Regions from separate parts of the Homo sapiens genome. Here regions 2, 3, 4, 5 and 6 are each linked to region 1. The links are contacts of gene promoters, found by promoter capture Hi-C in blood cells and fetal thymus (Javierre and others, 2016). All regions are on one chromosome and are shown on one strand. The core of a region is centred on a gene start or on the middle of the fragment in contact, and the rest is flanking DNA. Distances in the headings are between cores, read along the strand shown. Region 1 holds the start of CPVL (carboxypeptidase vitellogenic like). Region 2 overlaps CHN2 (chimerin 2). Region 3 overlaps CHN2 (chimerin 2). Region 4 has its middle 36 kb from the start of TRIL. Region 5 overlaps CHN2 (chimerin 2). Region 6 overlaps CHN2 (chimerin 2).

Evidence for each region. Contacts are between HindIII fragments. The CHiCAGO score rates a contact against its expected background, and 5 or more counts as called.
Region 2: a contact is called between a fragment that was not itself captured here and the fragment with the promoter of CPVL in region 1, in 5 of 17 cell types (megakaryocytes, total CD8 T cells, M1 macrophages and 2 more). The highest score is 6.7, in megakaryocytes.
Region 3: a fragment that was not itself captured here is called in contact with the fragment with the promoter of CPVL in region 1 in 3 of 17 cell types (endothelial precursors, naive CD8 T cells and activated CD4 T cells); the score reaches 6.0 in endothelial precursors.
Region 4: a contact is called between a fragment that was not itself captured here and the fragment with the promoter of CPVL in region 1, in 7 of 17 cell types (M2 macrophages, total CD8 T cells, M1 macrophages and 4 more). The highest score is 8.8, in M2 macrophages.
Region 5: a contact is called between a fragment that was not itself captured here and the fragment with the promoter of CPVL in region 1, in 1 of 17 cell types (endothelial precursors). The highest score is 5.2, in endothelial precursors.
Region 6: a fragment that was not itself captured here is called in contact with the fragment with the promoter of CPVL in region 1 in 1 of 17 cell types (M1 macrophages); the score reaches 5.5 in M1 macrophages.

The regions. Positions count from the first base shown.
Region 1 is chr7:29,144,025-29,147,786 of GRCh38, forward strand. It overlaps CPVL (carboxypeptidase vitellogenic like), which reads right to left and starts at 2,513. Exons shown (of 13, transcript NM_031311.5): 1 at 2,405-2,513. It also overlaps a transcript of CHN2 not described here. The HindIII fragment of the contact is 3,879 bases long and covers 120-3,762 here.
Region 2 is chr7:29,395,619-29,399,380 of GRCh38, forward strand. CHN2 (chimerin 2) reads left to right here. Exons shown (of 13, transcript NM_004067.4): 5 at 2,755-2,868. Among named protein-coding and RNA genes, the nearest start is that of PRR15-DT, 170 kb to the right of the region's middle. The HindIII fragment of the contact is 288 bases long and covers 1,579-1,866 here.
Region 3 is chr7:29,378,976-29,382,737 of GRCh38, forward strand. All of the region lies in intron 3 of CHN2 (chimerin 2), which reads left to right. Among named protein-coding and RNA genes, the nearest start is that of CHN2-AS1, 170 kb to the left of the region's middle. The HindIII fragment of the contact is 946 bases long and covers 1,681-2,626 here.
Region 4 is chr7:28,920,391-28,924,152 of GRCh38, forward strand. No RefSeq gene overlaps it. Among named protein-coding and RNA genes, the nearest start is that of TRIL, 36 kb to the right of the region's middle. The HindIII fragment of the contact is 1,025 bases long and covers 1,173-2,197 here.
Region 5 is chr7:29,359,250-29,363,011 of GRCh38, forward strand. The region is part of intron 2 of CHN2 (chimerin 2); the gene reads left to right. Among named protein-coding and RNA genes, the nearest start is that of CHN2-AS1, 150 kb to the left of the region's middle. The HindIII fragment of the contact is 2,659 bases long and covers 444-3,102 here.
Region 6 is chr7:29,335,471-29,339,232 of GRCh38, forward strand. The region is part of intron 1 of CHN2 (chimerin 2); the gene reads left to right. Among named protein-coding and RNA genes, the nearest start is that of CHN2-AS1, 130 kb to the left of the region's middle. The HindIII fragment of the contact is 844 bases long and covers 1,319-2,162 here.

The DNA of each region.
Region 1 (3,762 bases), core at 1,263-3,762:
CCACTACTGTTTTTACCAGGAAAGTACAGTTCTTAGCTTTTTGCCCAGCTTACCTCTCTCACAAGTCAATATAGACGTTAATGAGTCATTGTTCTAGAGGTATCTTTCTAATTCTGAGAAGCTTGCCTACTTCTTTTAAATGTTCTTAGTTCAGTCAATGAAAATCTCACATTATAAAGCCATCGGAAATGGTAAACTAAAACAATCATGTTTGCTCTTTAGTGAACCATACTTCCTATTAAGAAGGGGTCACTGGCCAGGCACAGTGGCTCATGCCTGTAATCCCAGCACTTTGGAAGGCCGAGGTGGGAGGATCACTTGAGGTCAGGAGTTCGAGACCAGCCTGGGCAACATGGCAAAACCCCATCTCTACCAAAGATACAAAAATTAGCCGGGCATGGTGGTGTACACCTGTAATTCCAGCTACTCAGGAGGCTGAGGCACAAGAATCCCTTGAACCCGGGAGATGGAGGTTGCAGTGAGCAGAGATGGTGCCACTCCAGCTTGGGTGACAAAGTGAGACTCTTGTCTCAAAAAAAGAAAGAATGGGTCATTACTATTTACCTTGAGTATTTGGGTGCTAATAAACAGATATCTGATGATACCTGGGGCAAGAACTGAGTTCCTCCCCTCTCATTGCCTTAGTTCTGTGCATCCCAGGGTAGTATTCAACACTCAGTGTTTCCTCTGACAAACTAGATGCTTCCCAAAACAAAAACAAACTCATTTTTAGAATTCTGTTATATTATTTGCTTCTTGTTTTTATTTTTTGTGGGGAGTGAACTGGTAAACCCAGTGGACTTTCTTAACACTCTTCTAAGTCATTCAAACTGTCAGTCAAAACCCACCTATTTCTCAGGCTAGTAGAATCCCACTATAAAGTGATTTATAAACTGGATTTATATAAATTGGGGGATCAATTGCCCCTCCCAAACAATCATCTCCTATAAAAGATTAATAAAACAACATCTGGTTAAGAACACTGACACTACATTATAAAGGGTTGCCCCTGTACTTAGACTAGCATGAGGTACACATCTAGAATGCCCAGTTAGCCAAACGGTCTTGACGACCATGCAGACTTTCATATGCCAACAAAGCCGGTGCAGTGTACTTTTCCAAAAGTGCTCCAATTCTCCTTTTGGACAACTTTCTTAAACGTTATTTACCAAGCTAATAAAATGTATTCTCAATGGACTTTTTACTCTGCTTACATCTTTGTTCTTACTCATCCCAAAGCAAAGAATGGAAAAAAAATGAGTTGTACATTTAGCCGGGGAAGGGAAAGGCAAGTACTGAGGGGCTCCTTTTTCATTTACTGATGCCAAAACTGAGGCTGTGGAAGATAAGTTACGTCCCTGATGTCATCCAAGTAGTGGATACCGGAACCAGGAATTGCACAGAATTGTCCAGCTCCAAAACCCAAGCACCTTGCTTGGGACCCACTGGGGTTGCAGTGAAGGTGGGGGGCTCAGAGGTGACTGCACACGGGTCATGCATAGCCACAGTCATTATATGGCCAGAGTTTTAAACATTATTTTGTTCTGTCTTCACCATAGACTTCATCATCAATCATAACTGATAAGGAAAATTACACTTAGCTGAAAAGCCAAGTCCCGTGCTAGGGAGGCATTTTCTGTATGTTATTTCTATTTCCAATAAAACAATTCTTTAAAAAGAAAAACTTATTATCTCCATCTTTCAGATGGAAAGACTGAGGTTTAGTAGGCTTAAATAATTTGCCCGAGGTCACTCACTAGCCAAGGCCAGAACTGGGATTTAAATCCACAAATATTCCAAAGTCCTTTTGTTTCTGTATCACTTCACAGGGAGCTGCTTCCACCTGTCTCCTGTGCCCTTGGTTTCTGCTAATCCTACATTCCAAGAATAAAAGTCTTCCTATGCGTTCCTAGGCAGAAGCCAAGTTTCCCTGCTTTGGGCACGTTCAAAATAGAAGGTATTTTCCGCTTCTCTTGCTTCTGAGCACCCACGAAATCAACACATCCCCAAAACACGCGTTGAGGGAGTAAGGGAAAGTGTCCTGCACCCGCCACCCTCCCGCGCTAAGAGCGGCAGAGGACCCCACAGCTTCGTACTTCCCCGGAGGAGCTCCTGGAGTAGGAGACGGCTTCTAGCCTGGAAGAACCCCGGGTGCGACAGTTGTGCCAGGAAACTTCAAGAGTATTCCCTCGGCTGGGCGCACGCAGTACATCCCCAATGCTCCAATTTGAACTTTGACTCGGCCACGACCACCCCACTCCAGTCTCACTCTACGGTGCTTTCTCCCCTGTTGGTGCTGAGGGCTTTTGAGACTACCTGCCCCGCGCTCCCTAAGTCCGAGGGACCGAGGCGAGGACCTGTCCCGCTGAGCTGGCACGACCCACGCAGGGCAGGCGGCACTTACGCGGCGCAGTCGGTGCTCCTCCCTGAGCCGCGGCGCGCAAGGACCCCAGCCGGTTGTCCTTGCAGCGCTTCCCAAATCAGGCAGAAGTGAGGCAGCCCCACCCAGTCACGAGGACCCTGCAGAACTCGAGCCTTTAAGCGCTCCTCTAGGCTCACATGACCCAGACCCACAGGGCAAAAAGTGCGTCGTCGTGTCCCAACCTCCTGGTCCCAGAAACCTGGCCGCATCAAGTCAGCGCTTCCCATGCTGGAAGAAGCAAGCAGCCCCAGGGTGGAATCTTAAAAATTAATGAAGAGCATCGGCGGGGTGCCATTCAGGTTGGTTTGTCCCTTTGTTTTATTTTGATTTTGTCTCCCAGTTTTTAAAAGCTGCTATCTTAAAATTTCAACCCTGTATTTTGAAATTATTTCTGCACTCTAGGACTTACTTGCAAGCCCAGGATTTACATTTGGAAAGCGAGTGGTGTTTGATTCCCACTGTTTAAAAAGGCAACACACGTTCGCTGATGGTCTACATTCCAGCTGCACTAGCAGTAAGCTCGCACCAAGTGCCACTGTCCTGCCAAGCACTCTCCTGAATCACTGCGCTGGAGTCTCAGAGCCACCTGATGTGTTCTGTACCATTATACCCATTTTGCAATTGGGGGACACAAACTAAGTGAGGTTAAGTAACCCATCCAGGGTCACATTGCTTGTAAGTGACCTGAGTGTATATTATTAGCCACCACCAGGTGCTGGGCATCGAGCCAGACAGTACGGGAGCAAGAACTAAAAAAGGCAAGGAGGTTGCAATGGCAAGTAGATAACACAAAATAAAGGAGGGTCATCATTATCAGCAACAGCAGCGTCAACTGCCAGACAGGTGGGAGAGGCCACGGGGAATCTTCTGCACTGTCCCGGGCCAACCTCCATCTCCTCACAGCTAGCTGCAGGAGTGAGCCCAGGGAAACCCGCAGTAGAGCAGCCCAGCCAACCCGACAGTCAGGGGGAAAAATTGTTTTAAGCCACTTTCAGTTTCGCGTAGTTTGTTATGCAACTAAGGCTAACTAAAGCACTAGTTTTACGAGCTGGAACAAACTAATGTCACTGAATATCTGTTTTCTCCTAAGTACCTACTTTATTGGGTTGTTGTGAGGACTCACTGAAAAACTATGTGTAAATCACCCAGCACAAAGTATGTGCTCAGTGACTGCAGTCATTCTTTGCTATCATACCTTCCATATGGAAGTACTTCCTACCCACCTAGCTCTTTAAGGAGAAAAATCTGTTTGTGGGAAAATAATTCTTTTAAGGCCAAAATCAGCCCACCTTTAATATATGCAGGACCCAGGGCAAAAGTACAAACAGAGATCTGTAGGC
Region 2 (3,762 bases), core at 473-2,972, 250 kb after region 1:
CCTTTTCTCTTCATCTCTTTCTGGTCTTTGTGCATGCTTGCTTTTTTCTTACCAAGTTGCAGTCATACAAATATATTAGATATTATAGGTTGGAGATATTTGGACTTTTAAAAATGATGCATAAAGGGGATGACAAGCCACAGACTGGTCTTCAGGTGCACAAAATTGTCATTTTCTTCTTTTGAATGATTGAATTTAATTTAGTTATTGACACTGTTTGACGCTGTCAATCACTTAAACTTGCCAATTCAAGTGAATTAAAACTTAAGTTCTAGGTGACTATAGTTAAAACAATTTATTATATATTCCAAAATAGCTAAGAGAGGCTTTCGAATGTTCCTAACATAAACAATAAATGCTTGAGGTGACAGGCATCCTGATTACCCTGATTTGATCATTATACATTGTACTTATGTATCAAAATATCACATGTTCTCCATAAATATGTACAATAATTATATATCAATTAAAAATAAAAATAGAAAAAGTATGCATACTCAAAATCAAGAATTAAAAAAGAAACATAAGACTTAGCTGCTTTTGACTGGGCACAGTGGCTCACACCTGTAATCCCAGCACTTTGGGAGACCGAGGCGGGTTGATCGCCTGAGTTCAGGAGTTCGAGACCACTCCGGGCAACATGGTGAGACCCGCCCCCACTCCCCGCATCTCTACTGAAATACAAAAAATTTGCCGGGCATGGTGGGGTGTGCCTGTAGTCCCAGCTACTCGAGAGGCTGAGGCAGGAGCATTGCTTGAGCCTGGGAGGCGGAGGTTGCAGTGAGCGAGCTGAGATCGCGCCATTGCACTCCAGCTTAGGCTACAGAGTGAGACTCTCTCCAAAAAAAAAAAAAAAAAAAAAAAAAATCTAGCTGCTTTTGGGTTAACTGCCTTGTTTAGAGACTACCCCTTTTCCTGTCCCTTCTCCTGGAGTGACCTGGGGCAGGTCCCTCTGCGTGCCCTGTCCTGCTATTGTTACTCTGGCCCACGGGCTGTGTCTTCGACATCCCAGCTTTTGTCTTTTCTACTTATGTGTTGGAATATTGGCAATGCTGTCTGCCCCTCCCACTCTCCTGCTGCATGTCCCTCCCCCCACACCCACCCCCACACTCACTGCCAACCCACCCGCCAACCCATCCGCAAGGCTGCCCCCAGGGCTCTTTGCCCAGGCCATCTGTCCCATCCTCTCCAACCTGGCTCAGGCTGCACAGGAGGCTCCTCCGCAAAGTTCCTAGGTCCAGTGACCTCACTATCAAAGCTCCAACACCTCTGCTCCAGGCCCCAATAAACTGGCCTCCCGGTTCCAATCCACACCTGCTATGCAGGGCCAGTTAGACCCCCTGAGACTGGGCTCTGCCTCAGTCCCTCCCACCAGAACCGGGGATTCACAGAACATTCATCCTCACTCAGAAGAGCATTGCTCCAAGACCTCCAGACATCAGCTGTTGAGATTTAAAATCAAAATTTGGGAAGCCAGAAAGCCTTTTTCTTCCAGGCCATCACTGCCGTACACCTTTAAGAAGCGATTTTGAAACACAAAGCCACAGGCTGCTTCTGACCTCACTTTCCTTGGACAGAAGCTTCAGCTTGGAAGGTCTACTTTTTAAGGATAGAGGGAATTAGGAAATAAATATTGTGATAGGCACTTTTAAAAATGTTATCCTTCTGCATTTGTACTCTAACTTAATCTTTGCATTCCTGAGGAAAATACAAAACAAAAGAAAATTTGTCTAGCTTACTTCCCTTTCCTCCTCTTCAAGAAAGTAAAGGTGTTTTTCTCTGTCCAGAAAATTTATTCTCTGATTTATTATCCAAAGTTCTCCAAGGTTGGATAATCCTAGAAAGGGGTGTTACTCCTTTCCCAGAAGCTTGAAGTCCCTTGGGACTGCCTCATTTCCCCAACCCAGCTTGCCCCACTTTCCATGAAATACTGGTTGATCAAATCTCCAGTCCTGTGGGAGGAGCAGCTGTATTTACTTAAAGGCAACAGGGAACGTGGGCTGGTTCCTGACCCAACTCCTACCTCTCCCTATTCCTCTGTGGAGTCACTGTCCACTCTCTGGGCCTCAGACAACTGCCTCCACATCAGAGTGATCATGGGCCAGCACACAACCCTCCCGGATATGCCACATTTTCCACATGCATGTGTATGGGTTTTAAAATGGTAGAGAAGATAAATTTATCTTTAAAAAAGAAAAATAGGTACATTTTCTAAAATACCCATAAGCTATTGCTCTCCAAGTGTAAATAACTGGAAGAATGTTGATGATAGCTACCTCTTTCCAGAAAATGAGCCTCTAAAATTAACACCACCCTGCACCTGAAGCAAGCAGGTTGCTAATCAATAAATGTCCACTTGCAATTAGGATAACACATAGTTCTCTGAGCTGAGAGCTAAATTGGTAATTGCTCTTCTGTTATTTCCCATGGTTAAAAAAAAGGGGGGGGGGGGGCGGTGGTTGAGTAACCTGGCTTTTTGTTTCAACTTTCATTTTCAACTTGAAAGCAAAGACAATAGCAGAAAGCCAGGTGGACTGGGCATCCTTCCTTTTGTTTGCCTGCTTGAATACTTGTGTTTGGAGCATGTGAGGGGTGGTTCCAAGTCACTTAAGATGGGCAGTAGTCACCCCCCTTCTTCACTCAGTTGTGGGGCTGTCGATTCTGGGTGCCCCCACCATCCTTTTAAGGCTAGTTCTTTGTGGTCCTTATTCTGTATGTGGTCTGTTCAGAGCATTGATGGTCTTGTACCTTCAGGTTTCATGGGATCATCTCTCGGGAGCAGGCGGATGAGCTTCTTGGAGGCGTGGAGGGTGCCTACATCCTTAGAGAAAGCCAGCGGCAACCAGGATGCTACACGCTGGCTCTCAGGTGAGGCGCATTTCATTCCTTGTTTTCATTGCTGTACAAGTGGCTTCACTGATGTTTGCCCATTTTTAAGAATTGTAGCAGAGTATACATAACACAAAATTCATCATTTTTCCCATGTTTATGTTATGAGGGGGGGGTCCCACTCTCTCACCCAGGCTGGAGTGCAGTGGCACAATCATGGCTCACTGCAGCCTCTGCCTCCCAGGCTCAAGTGCCTCCCACCTTAGCCTCCTGAGTAGCTGGGACCACAGGCACACACCACCATGACTGGCTAATTTTTTTTTTTTTTTTTTTTGAAGAGAATGGGGTCTCACCATGTTGCCCGGGCTGGTCTTGAACTCCTGGGCTCAAGCCATCCGCCTGTCTCAGCCTCCCAAAGTTCTGGGATTACAGTCAGGAGCCACTGCACCTGGCCTCCTTTTAAAATTTTTAAGTAAAATTCAGTGGCATTAAGTACATTATTAATGTTGTACAAACATCTCCATATTCATTTCCAGAACTTTCTCATCATCCCACACAGAAACCCACTACCATAAACAATTACCCCTCCCTACTCCTTACTTGATATCTTCACTTGTTTCTGAAGCACCAGCAGTATATCAGAGTTTGTTTACATTTCCTCAGCCGCAGATGCTATCGGTAGGTGTGGACACTGGGACTCTGATCATGGACACACAGTAAACTGGAGAACCATCTGGAAAGTTAGTGTTTCTACAGCCACCTCTGCCTGCACCATCTAGCTGGCCGAGGCTGCAGCGTCTTTGCCTCAGCTCCCAGCAGCCCATGTTGAAGGAAGGGCTCCTTCACCTGGCCTTGCACGTGCAGACCTCACAAGACCTGCATTTGCTCATGGGGTTCTCTCAGGGTTCACCTTGTTGACCCCAGGAACCTGTC
Region 3 (3,762 bases), core at 904-3,403, 230 kb after region 1:
AAGAAAAAGAGTGGGTTAATATACATAAAGCACTTAGAACAGTGCCTGACATTTATTTATCAGAAGCATTGGTCTTTAATTTCTACCATCTCCCAAGTACTACATAAATGTTAGTGGAAAAAAAAGGAGTTTCAGCCTTGGAATTTAGGATGAATTTGATCCCAAGCCATGTTGAGAGATGACTTGGCCTTCATGTTTAACATGCATAAATTAATGAAAGAGGCCAAAGCAGTTACAAGACGCAGGTGTTCTTTGACCTTCTTTCTGATGGTCACTTTCTCCACTTCAAGAGATGGAAGCCTGTTAGCAAAGGTGGCACAGCACTCCATCAGCAGGAAGTTAAAGGGGTGCGTGGGATCTGTTTATTTGGTAGCAACATCTGAACATGGAAGCTAAACTGACTTAAATTTCAGGAACAAAGCTGGTGTTAGCCTCCTATATGTTCTTGAATTCTGATTAATAATTTGTATGCCAATGCCTTTGAGGAAAGAGTGCTACATCTGCAGTTAACTCTGAAGTCTATTTTTTAAAAGTTGGATTGATGGATGGATAGAGGAATGAAAAAATATATATGCTGTAAAGCAAGAATAGTAAAAATGCTGTAGAACCTAGATGATGTGTATATGGGTGTTTACTGTAAAAGTCTTTCAACTTTTCTGTATGTATGAAAATTTTCATTATAAAACGTCAAGAAGAAAAAATGAAGACTGTGTGAGAAGAGTGGCAGGATGTGCTCTGGCCCATGGAACAAAGACATTCTCTTGGGTGCACAGCCCTGACAGGTGGGAGGATGACTTGGCATGAGAGCTGTCGAAAACACTATAAGCCATGCTCAAGAATTTTTAATGTGGAATAGAGAACTTTTCTGAAAAAGCATAGTTGAAAGCAAGGACAAGCATTAATAAGGCACTTCTACTCTTTTATTTATTACCATGTTGGGAATTATTTTGGGAGGAGTGCTTGCTTCAGAAATGCTAAAGTAGGTAATTTGTAAAAAAAAAATTAATAGAGAACAGGCTTCTGGATTTTATGTAATCATTACAATATAGAGCAATGAGTGCTGGCCCTGATATCAGGAATTGGGTTTTAACTCTGAATCTGCTGCTATCCCTGGGCAGGACTGTGGGCAAATTAGTTAATCACTCTGAACTGCAGCTTCCTTGTCTATAAGAAGAAGGCAAAGATACAATTCCACCCTCCTGGTGGGAGAATATATGTAAAAGCATTCTGAAGGTCATGACGTTATCAGTGAACAATGAGTTCTCAAAGGGGGCAATATCACCCCTAAAGTGGAGAAATTTGGTTCTTACCAAAAAAAAAACCCTTACTATTTATATGTATAAAGCACAAATACCTATATAGAACATAAACAGATATACAGTCTATATGTAATATTAAAATTCCTTTGTGGGGAGGTGCTTGAGAGAAAACCTGTCTAAAAAGGCTCCTTAGGGAGCTATAATGCAAAAACAGACAAGCCTTGAATTTCTACCATCTCCCAGATTCTGTTCTCCTTTCTTTTTCTTTAGGTAGATTAATTTTATCCATCACTTTGAATACTTAATACTCTTACATTTCTAGGAGAGAGAGAAAAAAGTAACTTCTGGGAGAAAACTAAGAATGATAGACACTTTGCCTTTTCCAAAGTACGTATAGTACCACTTAACCCAAATACCATTAAGCTTTGATGGAAGGAATTTACTAACAAGAGTGAGGAATTAAATGAGTATACTCACCCAATCTTTTTTCCTCTAGAAATTTAACAGCAGCATGAGTTTTCCCTTGATTTGATTCAGTTCTGTTGGGTACTTCAAGCTCTTTGGGCTTAAAAGGTATGTGGAGAATTTAAAGAGAGTTTGGAGGAGAATAATGAAGATGAATTAAGGATTGGAAATTGGGACCTATTAGAAAAGGTCAAAGGCACAAGGATTATTTAGTTTGAGGAAGAACAGGCGATCTAGTGGCACAGAGATGGCTTTTAATAATGGAAGCCTTATTCTGTAGAGAATATTCTCAGATTCTCATTTGCACTGAAGACCAAAAGAAAGGAAGATGCATAATTGGAAGCTGGAGGAACATAAGATTAGATGTGAAGATAACATTTATCTTCATGATTAAATTCTGGATTTTGAGTCTCCTTTACAGTATTTCTTATTTTAAAGTAAAATCCCTGTTTGGTCGATCAGAAGTGTGGACAAGTCAGCCCATCATGTTTGATTCTCTGGCCCTGGTTGGGAGGTCAGCCAGCCAGCCCAGCCAACATGGCCTCCTGGGGATCTGGCTTGATGGGAGAAAACATTCATTTCACCTGGACCTGTGGCTCCAGGATGCCAAAGATGAGTACAAAAAACTCTAGCCAACAGAGTGCCAGGCTCGTGCCAGAAAAGTATGCCTAATTGGGTTGTCCAAACAAGGAGGGCCTAAGGCAGATTTTGAGAGCCAACATATGGAGCCAAGGAATCACGGTGCCAAAGAAGATGTAGCAAAGAAGAGTGGGTGAAAGTGAGCTGCTGGGAAGAAGGGCTGGATAGAGGAGTGCCACTCATGGCTGGGCTTTTGGGTGTTCCTGGAAGCCCACTGTGAGAATGGATCAAAATCAATGGGAAGGTGCTGCCAAGGTGTCCTAAGCTTCTAGGATAATATTTATTCTCTCAGGGTTTTGGAACTGCTGCCCAAAGTCATAGTTCTCAGTCCTGGGTGTGAGTCAGAATCACCTGTGGAGCCTGGCAAACCTTACAGACACCCTGGCTCCAGCCCTGGAGATTTTGATTTAATGGAAATATCACTTAGAATTCTATTGTAAGCAATAAAAGTCTATTCTCACTAAACTAAGCAAAAAAAAAAAAAAAAAAAAAAAAAAAGCAGGGCCTAGGAGGGCGGACCAATTGTGGTTAGAAGGATATGAGGAAATTCCCTGGATGGAAAGAAAAGCTGGTCAGAGGGCTTGAGAAAGGATTTGAAGCAAGACTGACAGACCTTGGGCAATAAGAGGTGATGGTTAGCGTCAGAGTTCCAGGGTAGTCCAACCTGCCCTTTGCACCTTGCTTCTCTGTGCCTCAGTTAGTCCTCTGGAAATGGATATAACTGATCTTACCTCTTGGGTAATCATGAGGATCGACAGGGTTGATATATGTAAAGAAAGTGCTTAGAACAATGCCTGGTACATAAGTTCTCAATAACTATTAATGATTATTGTTGTTATTAGGCTCTGCCATGCATGTGAATCAACTCTTAACAGTTTCATTTAATGGTTTCTACTCAAGTCTCAAATTCCAGGGGCAGAGCATCTGGGTGGCTTATGTTGGTTCACATGTTCACCCTCTAAAGAATGTGAGGGACTTCGATTAGCAGAATCACTGGCTCGAAGTCACAGTTGTTGCCTGTGGTCTTCAGTCTTCACTCTGGAGATTCAGAAAGCAGACAGGGGAACAAGTTTTGTCCCGTAGCTTGGAAGCATAAAGCATCAAGGTGTGAGCTACCACCAATGCCAGTCTTTCCATGGATACCCCTTTTGAAATTTCAGTGAGCCCCAGAAAGGGATCTGGGAGCATAAGCAAACCTGCCTTTCACTTATTGTGTTATGCCATGAGGCTGAGCTCTGTGAACACCGTGAGCAATATGCTGGGACAGCAGAGGTGAAGAAACAGGAGCCCTTCCCTCAAGGAGCTCACATTGAGAGCTCATAAAAGCCAACAATCCCAATCCCAGTAAGATCGCCACGGCCCTAACTCAGGCCTTTTATAAAGTTCAGAGGCAGGAGAC
Region 4 (3,762 bases), core at 435-2,934, 220 kb before region 1:
AGGGACTGGGGACAGCTGTCTTTCCTCCAACCCAGGAGTAAGGAGCCTGCCAGGATTTGGATCCCATCTCCTTCTCCTGCGTCTCCCTCTGCGATTGATGAACACCATCTTATTTTTAACTAGAACCCAGTCAAGCAGGAGACAATTTTTTCTTGTCTTAGTAGCCCAGTAGCTGTTGTTCCTCCTTAACAATCGACTCATCTATGCCTTGTGGGCCTGCGACTCCTGGAGCTTACCCTGTTTCTTTGAATTGCTAGTAAACTGCAAACCAAATCTATGATTCACCCTTACCAAAAGTTTTGCAGAACTTCATTTTCATTAGTGTATGTTGTGGACTCATCTCACGTCTGGCCCCATTTCATGTCCCTACACTTTCCTTTCCTCCCTTTTCCTTATCCCGCACCCCAAAACCAATGTCTATTTTATATCATGTTATTTTAAACATTAGATATAGATTTCCAAAACCACCTTAAATGTTTTGATTCAAAGTTCTAATATACATACATGGAATCAGAGTGATTTTTAATAATTGTGGTGTACAAAACACTATGTGCCTTTTTGGATTGGCTTTGCAGGAAAAGACATTTTTTTAAATAAGATCAACAAATAAAGGAATAGCTAAATTGGAACTTGGAAGCAGAATTCCAAATTTCTTGCCTTAACTGGTGGCTCACACACTCCTCAGCAAGTAACGAAAATATTTTAGATCTGTGGTCAAGTAAGCTCCTCCATTTCATAAGTTCAAAAGCAAGAAAAATATCAGGGAATTAATACAAATTCTACTAAAACTTTTAGAGTACTCTGTTTTAGAGGGGCTCTATGATTGCTAATATTTAAAGCTATATATTGTGAAGTTCTAAAACGTAAGATGAATTACAACATTTCCCTAACCCACTTATCACATTTTCAGGGCATGTTACATTTCAGAGGGGCATATATTTGGTTCTTATAATTTGTTTACTTTGATTGTTTCATTATAAAAGAAATACAAGTTTGTGTTAATAAATGAATGATAAAGTAAAAGACAAAAGTCTTCATCCTCTTGCCCTGTCCTCACCTTAATCCCCAGAGGTTACGATTGTTAGCAACTTGGTAACTATCCTTCTAGATCTTTTCTATGTATAGATACATACAAATGCTTGAGCATTGATGTAATGTATATTATAAAAAGAAGCTTTCTATTTCAAATGGATCCAGTGGATACAACACAATTTACTTACCCATTCGGTTATTTAACATTTTCAATGTTTTCTCCCATTTGATTTCAGAGCTGAAGGGGAAAACAGAGAGTGGCATGTTAGCCCCTTATTAACGCCCATCATTTTGTATGCTCCTGTCCACATTCCATATTGAATCCTAGCACATCAGTGGATCATTCACTTACTCTCTCTTTCATCTACAGCAGGAACGTAATAAGAACAAAGATGGTCATACTCTAACAGTCACATCCCAGTGGCTTCATGTTCCCTGGACAGGACTGCATTCACCAATATGTATCCCAGTGCTTGTGATTATTATAGTACTGTGTGACATTTGCATTACATCTGTAAATTCCCAGAATGGCCACCAGAGGGAATCAACCACCCAGCGCATTCAGAGCTATTGAGTCTAGCGCCAATGACACTGGCTTAGCTCTTATCTCGAATGTGTGTCTGCTTACATTGGCTAGCATTTTTTAAAATTAGATTATATTTTTAAAATGGCCATTACTGAACTCCTCTCCAATTAATATACGGAACAATGCAGGCAAAGTGCTTCAGACAGTGCCTGGCTAAATAAACACAGTAAGTTATTATTGTTATTGTCATTCATAAGCCATTTTAAAAAGAAGAGAACCATTCCTTGCTGTGCTATTATCCCTAACAAATATTTCCTGGCAAAGGCTCATCTATTTAGTAACAGTCCAATGCATAGTTACCACGCCGCTCCCCAAAGTGCTTTGGTCTTGGTTGCTTGATTAACTTCAGGATAAATGAGTGGCCCTAGCCAAGAAGACTTTTACAATTTTTCATTCTTATTTTCTGTTAAATATATGTTGCCTTATATACCTCTCTCTCCCCCTCCGCATACAATAAAATGCATTTCATGAAATACACACATTATATAGACTCTTTCATCAGAGAATGGAGGGAGATATTCTGGAAAAATGCATTTTTTAGTTACCACCATCGCCAAGATAGACTTTTGGACAATATTAAGCTTGTTGTCACTCACAAACCTTATTCAAGCATGTCCATGCCAATGATGAATGGATACTTTCTCTAATAAGTGCTCACAAATACAGCTATGGGAGGATTCCACCAAATTTACCTCAATTTCCATTATTTCAATATGCATTTACACATATTCTGATGTTTATTGACCAATGCTCCGTAAAAATCCAAAGGCAAATGAGTGAATGATGGTAAGCCTCGAGACCACACGGTGGCGCTGTTTCATCATACTTGAGAGAGGCTTTAGCACTTTGCAGGAGACCACGGCCCCCTGAAAACAGAAGACCATGAATACAAGAATTGCCTTCCCTGTGTTACTCCAATTTGAATGAGAGAACCCAGTAGAGTTTAACATTTAGCATTAATTCGTATCTAAACAACAAAACAGCACCAAAATGCAAATGTGAGGAAATCATTGCTGAAAAGTGGGTTGTTGGAGAAATGATACATAAATGCTTCATGCTGTTAATTTATGCTACCACTTTTCATAGCAATACTGCAAGCTCTCCCTAGATGTGCGAGGTGTTTTCACTTTCATGCTTATATTTTGTTCTCCACATGATCCAGTGAAGCAAGCAAGGGGGCTTTGATCTCTATTTTACAGCTAAGGAAACTGAAACCTTTCCTGGCACCCAAAGATTGCAAAATCTTCTGCAGCACAAAAGAGTTTTTTGTGTCCTAACATCTCTCTGATGCTTGTGAGAAAGTGTAAATTCCAGTAGGCACTTTACCCAAGCCACCTTGAGGCTCTGGTTTTTTAGTTCATCCCACCCCAGGCCCAGGCAGATATGGTTGAATTCTAAGGTTTCCATTCTTTCCCATTGACCAGAGCAGGCTGGCACCCAAAGTGCTGATCAGGAAGAAGGCCCCTCTTCCACCACCATCACAGAATCCCCAAGGAGCTTGTCTTCCATCCTAGGCATGTAAAATGATTTACTATCTGCGCCCTTCAGCTGTAGAGCTGAAATCTGCATCCTGTACCTAGTCCCTCATGATAGGGAAGAGGTAGAAAACAAAACACCCTCCACTCATTTCTTATTCATAGAGCAGCCAATGTAAAATATGATTACATACATGATGGATTGGATCCGACAGATAGTATAAAAGGCAAGCCGGGGAACATTAACTAGGGAATGGATTTTTCAATGATTTCCAATGTCTCTTGTAGTCAACAGTGAAGGGAAGGGAAGGGATGAGACAAATGCAAAGAGACACACACATAACTTTCAGTATCAAACTTTAAAATACATTTCACTCTCAGATAAAGGCTTATTGCGTGTTTATCCTATGCTTTGCTGTGTGCTTTATATACGTGATTTCTTATTTATTTATTTATTGAGATAGGTTCTTGCTCTGTTGCCCAGGCTAGAGTGCAGTGGCACGGTTTTGGCTCACTGCAACCTCTACCTCCCAGGCTCAAGCAATCCTCCCATGTCAGTCTCCCTAGTAGCTGGGACTACCGGCTAATTTTTGTGGGTTTTTTGTTTTGTTTTTTGGTTTTTGGTTTTTGTTTTTTTTTGTAGATACAGGGTCTCACCATGTTGCCCAG
Region 5 (3,762 bases), core at 523-3,022, 210 kb after region 1:
TTTGGAGTAATATTGGAAGGAGGAAGATGAAAATGGATGCTGGGAAGGCAACCATAAATATCTGGCTAAGAAATTTAGAAGGGTAAGAAATCAGCTCTCTCAATATTTTATATAAATTATAGTGTTCATTAATTTAGTCACTCCTTCATTCAACAAATGCATATTAAGTCTCTGCCTTAAGCCGGGCACTGTGCTTGGAGTTGGGCCACTAAGATGGATAAGGTCGGCTGTTGACTCAAGGAACGGTGATGCCACGGGATGGCCTTTAAGTCCCTGCCCTCTCTGTTCCTTTCCTTTTCTTAGAAAAGGAAAAAAAAGGAAAAAGCTTCATGGCTTACTGAGCTGTTTCCATAAAATAATCTTGTCCCAAAGTATCATACATCTGCAGCTAATTCTTAACTCTCAAGACTGAATACAAGAAACATTGATGACGTCACTGAGAAAGCTTTGGTTTCAATGCTCTAAAAGAAGAGCTACTTTCAAGTTTACTTAAAAATAATAATAAAGCTACATTCTAAACTTTAAGCCAGAACTGTATGAACTTTATGCCTCGAGCAGGCAAGTTCAAAAGCCAATCACCATGGTTATGCTCTGAAAGATTTTCTTTCTTAAGAGGCCAAGTGCCAATTAGGCAGCAGATGCAGTGGCTGACAGCTCTCCCTGGAGGCTCCCCTGGGCAGCAGGTCACTCAGGCATAGCTTGTGCCTGTTTTACAGATTTGAAGTTTAGAGCCTCAAAACCCTGATCTGCAGAATCCCTGCATCAGAATCCCTTGGGGAGGATATTTATGATAATTATTCCTCAGCCTTACCCCAGATCTCTGGATCAGAAAAGTGGGGGGATCTGCAATGTATCAAACCCCACAGGTTTCTCTTATACATACTTACGCCTGAAACCCCTCAGTGTGTGGGCAACTGTCATCTCCTCCTAGAGGTTTTTCACAGTGCCATTAGACAAGATAATTAAATCCCCATTAAGACTCGACATTCTGGCCGGGTGCAGTGGCTCACGCCTGTAATCCCAGCACTTTGGGAGGCCGAGGCAGGCAGATCACCTGCGGTTGGGAGTTCGAGACCAGCCTGACCAATATGGAGAAACCCCATCTCTACTGAAAATACAAAATTAGCCAGGCATGGTGGTGCATGCCTGTAATCCCAGCTTCTCGGGAGGCTGAGGCAGGAGAATCCTTGAAGCCAGGAGGCAGAGGTTGTGGTTAGCCGAGATCATGCCATTGCACTGCAGCCTGGGCAACAAGTGCAAAACCCCGTCTCAAAAAAACAAAAAAAATTGACATTCTGTTAGGAAGGCAAGGCCTTCCCATGGCAGGGTGGAGGGTGGGGTTGAGCCAAGGAAGACACCTAAAGCACCTACAATTCCCTGCTTATAAGGTTTTCCCATGAAAATCGGGAAGACATGAGCAGTGAGCAGGGTCATACTGGCTCAGCGTCATGGCCAAGTGCCTGGGTTCAGCTCCTGGGTCCATATACCCTCCTTAGAAAGAAGTAGACTGTTAGAAGCCATCCCTGCAGGATCTCTTAGGAGCTGATGGGGCTGGCCTGGGCTTCAAGGCCACCCAGGCTGTGGGCTTTCACCCATTAGCCGTCTGATTCTGTTCCCAGAGTGAGTCAAGTTTTCTTACTGAAGAAAAAGTAAAACAGTCTGTCAGTGAGCTCACAATTTCTTAATCTGCTTTGGGTTTCTTGGGGAGTTAGGGAGCTCCACCTCCGTGTTCCCCAGTGGCTGCCACCCCTGCCAAACAGCTTACTCTGGTGCTAAGAATTCTCTGGTGTGCGGCAGAGGGCCCGGGGCTGGGAATTCCTGGCACATATTTGGGACATTGCTGCAGAAGTAATTCCATCACGTCACCTCTCAGCTCACAGACCACCCAAGAATTGACATACATTATTGCATGTGACTTGTGAAATGTGTTTGTTGAACAAGGAAAATTCAAGAAGCAACGTTTTCAGATTATGCGATAAATTTCTGTTATATTCAACTCTGCCTCAGAGATTTTTTTCATGGATGCTATAGCTAACCTTGAAAATGATGGGCAGGCTCTCATTTGAAGCTAAGAGAGGAGATTGGGCCTTATTTTTATATGGTTGCCGTGGTAATTGATTGTCATCTCATTATCTTTATAGCCAGCCAGGTAACCCAGATGGCAAATAGGCTTCTGTGCCTACTTGCCAACTTCTGTTGTTTGGAACAGCATAGAACAGGGTTTTGCAGATTCTGAGACCTGCTCATTGAGAAATAAGTCATCAAATAATGATGTCTACTGCCGAGGGGCCAGGAGAGAGAGGTGGCAGTTCCTCGCTTCTGGGGTTTGCCTTCCCCTTCCCTCCTCCAAGTCGCCCCTGGCTGGGGATTGTTCTTTGTTGGTTGTGAGATTGGTGAATTACCAAATTTTTCTTTGCTAAAGCTCAGAGGGTTCCTAGAGAATGCAGCTATGGGATTTAGCCTGTTGACATAGGAGAGGAACTGTCCAGAAATGTTCCATCACCTGCATCCTTTATTTGTATAGTAGCATCTCAATCTCTCAGCCGCTCAGGGTCTCTTTGTAAACCAGTCTTGTTGATTCTCTTTTGAATCTCTGAGGCCATCAACTCACCTTCTCATTTGCATTTGCACCAGTGTTATCTTAACTCACACTTTCACAACCTCATCTGTGTACCAGTAAAACACTGTTCTCTCTTGCTTCCTTGTCTCCAGTGTTCCCCATGTCTGATCCCTCTTTCAGCAAGGCAAAGGACAGTGGCTCCTACTCCTGGATATGCATGAGTCTCTTGAAGAGCTTTAAAAAGAACAGATCTGGGGGCCCCTGGCCGGACTGGGAGAGTAAGCAATGCCAGAGATGGAGTCTAGGAATCTGTATTATTTTATAACTCCTAGGAGTTTCTAATGTGAGCAGCTCCTCATGGGACCTCTCCACCATCTAGTTAGGCAACCACTGGCTGAGGCTGAAAACTACAGCCTTTGGGTTTTGGAAATCAAGGCAATGAATCTTCATTTCATCCTCTGATCTGTGTGACCTTGAGCATCTTCAAAGCTGGCAGGCAACCCCGCTACCTTATTAGTGAGGGGAATAACAGTTACCTTGGAAGCTTTTTGGGAAGATGAAGTGAGAAGATGCATATAATATGCCTGGCACATGGTCTGTGCCCAGAAAAGGGCAGCATTTCTTCTTCTGAATAACCTTATCCCTATTACCAATATTTTAAAACAGAGTAGATCATGGCTCCTGCTCAAACATGTGACTGTCCCTTTGTTACAGACAGGAGGACAGTCACGGTCCCCAGCATGTCATTCAAGGTCCAGCCCCACATGGCCTTCTCACACATCCCACGCCCTGGCTCAGCAGCCACACTGGCCTCTTGCTGACCAGTCAGCTCATCATTTCCTTTCCCTGCAGTTCCTCTTTCCTCTATCTGTAACTCTCTCTCTTCTCTACCTGCAGAACCCTTCTAATCCTTCAGGAGAGCTCCCTGCCTCTTCCCTTGGGAAGTTGTTCTGACCACTTGAGTACATTGAATAGCTTCCTCCTCTTCCCCTATTAAAGTACTTGGCCCACCTTGGTTTTGTGTCTCCATGCATGTCCCCCATCACTGGCATCTCCTCGAAGGCACAGATTGTGACCCATGGGCCATTAGATACAGTCTGTTCATTCACCAAATAATTAAAAATGTGTTCACAAAGCCACTTGAGCCACACTTCCCATATATCACTGTTGGTTTCAAGAGGCATTAATAATGGGAAGAGAAA
Region 6 (3,762 bases), core at 491-2,990, 190 kb after region 1:
CAAGCACTGAGGATAAAGGACCTTTCAGTATGTTATTTAGGGAACCCAAATCTAGTCATTTCTGGCTGTTTTCTTTGCTTTTTCCTTTTCTAGTTTTTGAGTTTTGACAGCCAGATCCTCACCATACTAGTTGGTAGTCTGTACTAGAGCCTGCATGTGTCAGGTAAGGCACTCTGCAAATCCTGGCGAGGAAGGAGACTTACAATAAACTCGATTGTTCTTTTCCTCTTTAATCAGATCTGCCAGCTTGTGCCTGACTAGTCCTGTCAACATTGTGAACAGTGGAGATGGTTTGCCTCAGTTGCACTGTGCACTGTAAAAGCAGTACCAATGGCTGTGCAGACATTCCTAAAGAGAATCTTAGTTTTCTTCCTCCACTTTAATAGTGGTCACCCAGTGGGTTGAGCAAACAAACATTTATTGAGCACCTGGTGTGTACAAGCATTCGGCTCTGCTTTGGTGCTGAGGAGAGTAAAGCTGCCAGGGAAAACCGAGGGGACACACGGACAGCTCCAGTGGGGTAGCTTTGCAGTGGGACTCACACCTCTTCATTCTACCAGAAGCCAGAAGATACTCACTGGGGACAGTCGTGATGGGAGTTTTTCCATGAGCAGCAAGAGCTAATGGGCCGTTTGCCTACAAGAGAAGGTGGGACAGCAGATTCCTCCTGGAGAATCTCCCTTGTGGCCCTCTCATTGCCCTCTGACAGATTGCAAGCCTGAAATCTGTCAGCTTTGAAAGATTGCCTGACCCTCCAGTATTTGGCTATGTAAGACAGGTACTGAAAGACGGCTTTTGTTGAGGAACTGACTCCCAATAAAAATGGTTAACTATCCAGTGTGAGAAAACACGCCGTTGAGGCTGGGCATGGTGACCCACACCTGTAATCCCAGCACTTCGGGAGTCAAGGGTGAGGATCACTTGAGCCCAGGAGTTCAAGTGCAGCCTGAGCAACACAGTAAGACTCTGTCTCTACAAAAAAATTCAAAAATTAGCTGGGTGTGGTAGCATGCATTTGTAGTCTTAGCTTCTTGGGAAGCCAAGGTGGAAGGATTTCTTGAGCCTAGGAGTTAGAGACCAGGAGTTCAAGTCCAACCTGCAACATAGTGAGACCCTGTCTCTACAAAAAAAAATTTTTAATTAGCTAAGCATAGTACTGCACACCTGTAGTCCTTGCTACTCCAGAGTCTGAGGCAGAAGGATCTCTATAGCCCAGGAGTCTGAGTTTACAATGAACCATGATTGTGCCACTGTACTCCAGCCTGAGTAACAGAGCAAGATTCTGTCTCAAAAAAAAAAAAAAAAAAAAAAAAAAAAAAGCTTCACATGCAAACCAGAAAGTCTCCTTGCTTCTCAGAATGCTTGAAGTGAAAACAACAAGCATTCCACCTTTCTCTCCCTCCCTGGCACAGGGCCTGGCAAACTCCTACTCATCCGTCACTGCCCAGCTCCAATGTCATCTCCTCTGTGAGGTCTTCCTTGTTAGCTTCCCATTCGCCCCTGCCAGGAACCTGGCTCCTGTCTTCCGGCACCCACCACCCTTGCATGCACTCCTTCATACACTCCCCTCTGCTTGCTTCCCCTCTAGGATTGGGTGCTGCTTCAGGGAAAGGACTTTGTCATCTTTGTGTACCCAGTGCCTAACTTGGGATCAGGAATAGAGTGATGGGTAAATGTTTGTTAAATGGAGAGAGGAGAACATGAACAAATGATCTTTTATAAAGGCACAGGTGTGTAAATATACAATTCCTCCTTATGACCGTGCTGCTGAAAATAGATAAACAGAGGGTACCAGTACAAACAGCTTCAGACAGGAGCTAACTATTAAGGAAAGGTTTGTTTTAATTTTAGTTTCAGACTCTGGTAGTGGAAGTAGGAACTTTCACATGCTGCGATTAGGAAGACAAATGTCCCACTGTGCAAACAGCAAGAGGATATGACTGCTGCCAGCACGCAGTACAGCTGTCCCCAACTCTATGAAGACATGCAACACTCATAACAGCAGAGTGCGGAGAGGGGGTCTATTCTTCTCACTCTGTTATGTAATGTGAATACTTTCTCTTGCGGAAATCATTGGGACCACTTGTTGTTTGCCTTACTCTTAACCCTTTAATCATAGACCTACTGATGCTGTCACCCAGGCTGCCACGGGGTGACAGGAAAGCTTTCCTTCCTGCATACATTTGTTCAAGCATTTGGCATGGAAGTGATAAATGCATGCTAATGCAGAGCTTAATGTGGAGCTTTCAGTTAGCATCTTGCAGGTTGTGAGGGATTGTTTCGGCTGTTGGGTCCTTACTCTTGCTTCTTCCTGTACATCACAGACACGCTTCCTGTGCTGTTTGTTGCTCTGTGGTGTGGTTGATGGGGTGTCTGAAGTGTTGCTAATGCAGTGCGTGTGATCTTTAGAAATATTTTCCCTGAAGTTATTTTTAAAGCAAGTGATAAGAAACCACAGAACACCAAAACCCAGAAGGAAAGGAAAACTGGAGGCTCCCAGTCTCAGGAGGCTTCAAGAATCAGAGCCAACTAGACAGCCTGACTGGGCCCCATCTATTTTTACTGGTCTTACAGTAAGGGGTAAGGTTTAGGTTGGAAATAGATGAAGGCAGGCTTAATATACTTACAGAGAGACTGAAGTAACAGCTTGAATGTTGTGACATAAATGAGTTTGATTGCTATGATAAAATATGGTAGGTCAGTCTTCCCAAGATGACTATTGGGTGTACATGTTACTGGCCATAATTTATTCTTATGGGATACAAATGAGTTGGCCAACTTTGGGCAAGGCACCATCCTCTGTGGGCTTCAGATTCCAAGTCTGTAAGATGGGATAAGAGTACCCACCTCATAGTGCTGTTTGGAAATGAAGTGTGATAATATATGTGCAGTCCTAGGACATTGCAGTGTCTAGTATGAGAGACAGAATTTTGTAATGAAGAAAAGTATGCTTTTCAGATCCGGACAATGCTAGATTTGAATATTCAGCTTCACTATATGATTAATATATGTGATTATTTATGTGATTCTGGGCAACCTCACTATTCCTCTGTTTATTTGCCTGTACAATGGGACTAATAATACCTGTTTTATAAGCTGGTTGTGAGTTTTTTGTTTGTTTGTTTTGCCACAGAGTCTTGCTCTGTTACCCAGGCTGGAGTGCAGTGATGCGATCTCAGCTCATTGCAACCTCCATCTCCCAGGTTCAAGCAATTCTCATGCCTCAGCCTCCTGAGTAGCTGGGATTGCAGGCTAGTGCCACCATGCCTGGCTAATTTTTGTATCTTTTAGTAGAGACAGGGTTTCACCACGTTGGCCAGGCTGGTCTTGAACTTTTGACCTCCAGTGATCTCCCTCTCTCAGCCTCCCAAAGTGCTGAGATTACAGGCATGAGCCACTGCACCCAGCCCTGGTTATGAGTATTAAATAAGACACTGCATACAAAACATCTAACAACGTAATGAAAGACTATTAATAAAGGCTAAGATATCTACATGATATCTGTCAAAATTATCTTTCACAAAAGGAATGTTATCTTAGATTTTATTTTATACAAAGCCTGTCATACTATTGGATTACTCAGTTAATTTATTTTGAACCCTCAATTACATTCTGGAAAAGTCACAGTAGACTTGAAATGATGTTAATCAGGGATAGTTTTGGACCTTTGTAGTGGTCACTTCATGGAATCATTTTTAAAAAAGGAAGCTAAGAAATTTAACCTAGGTATATTTAAACAAGTGCTAAATGTAATTGTAAACA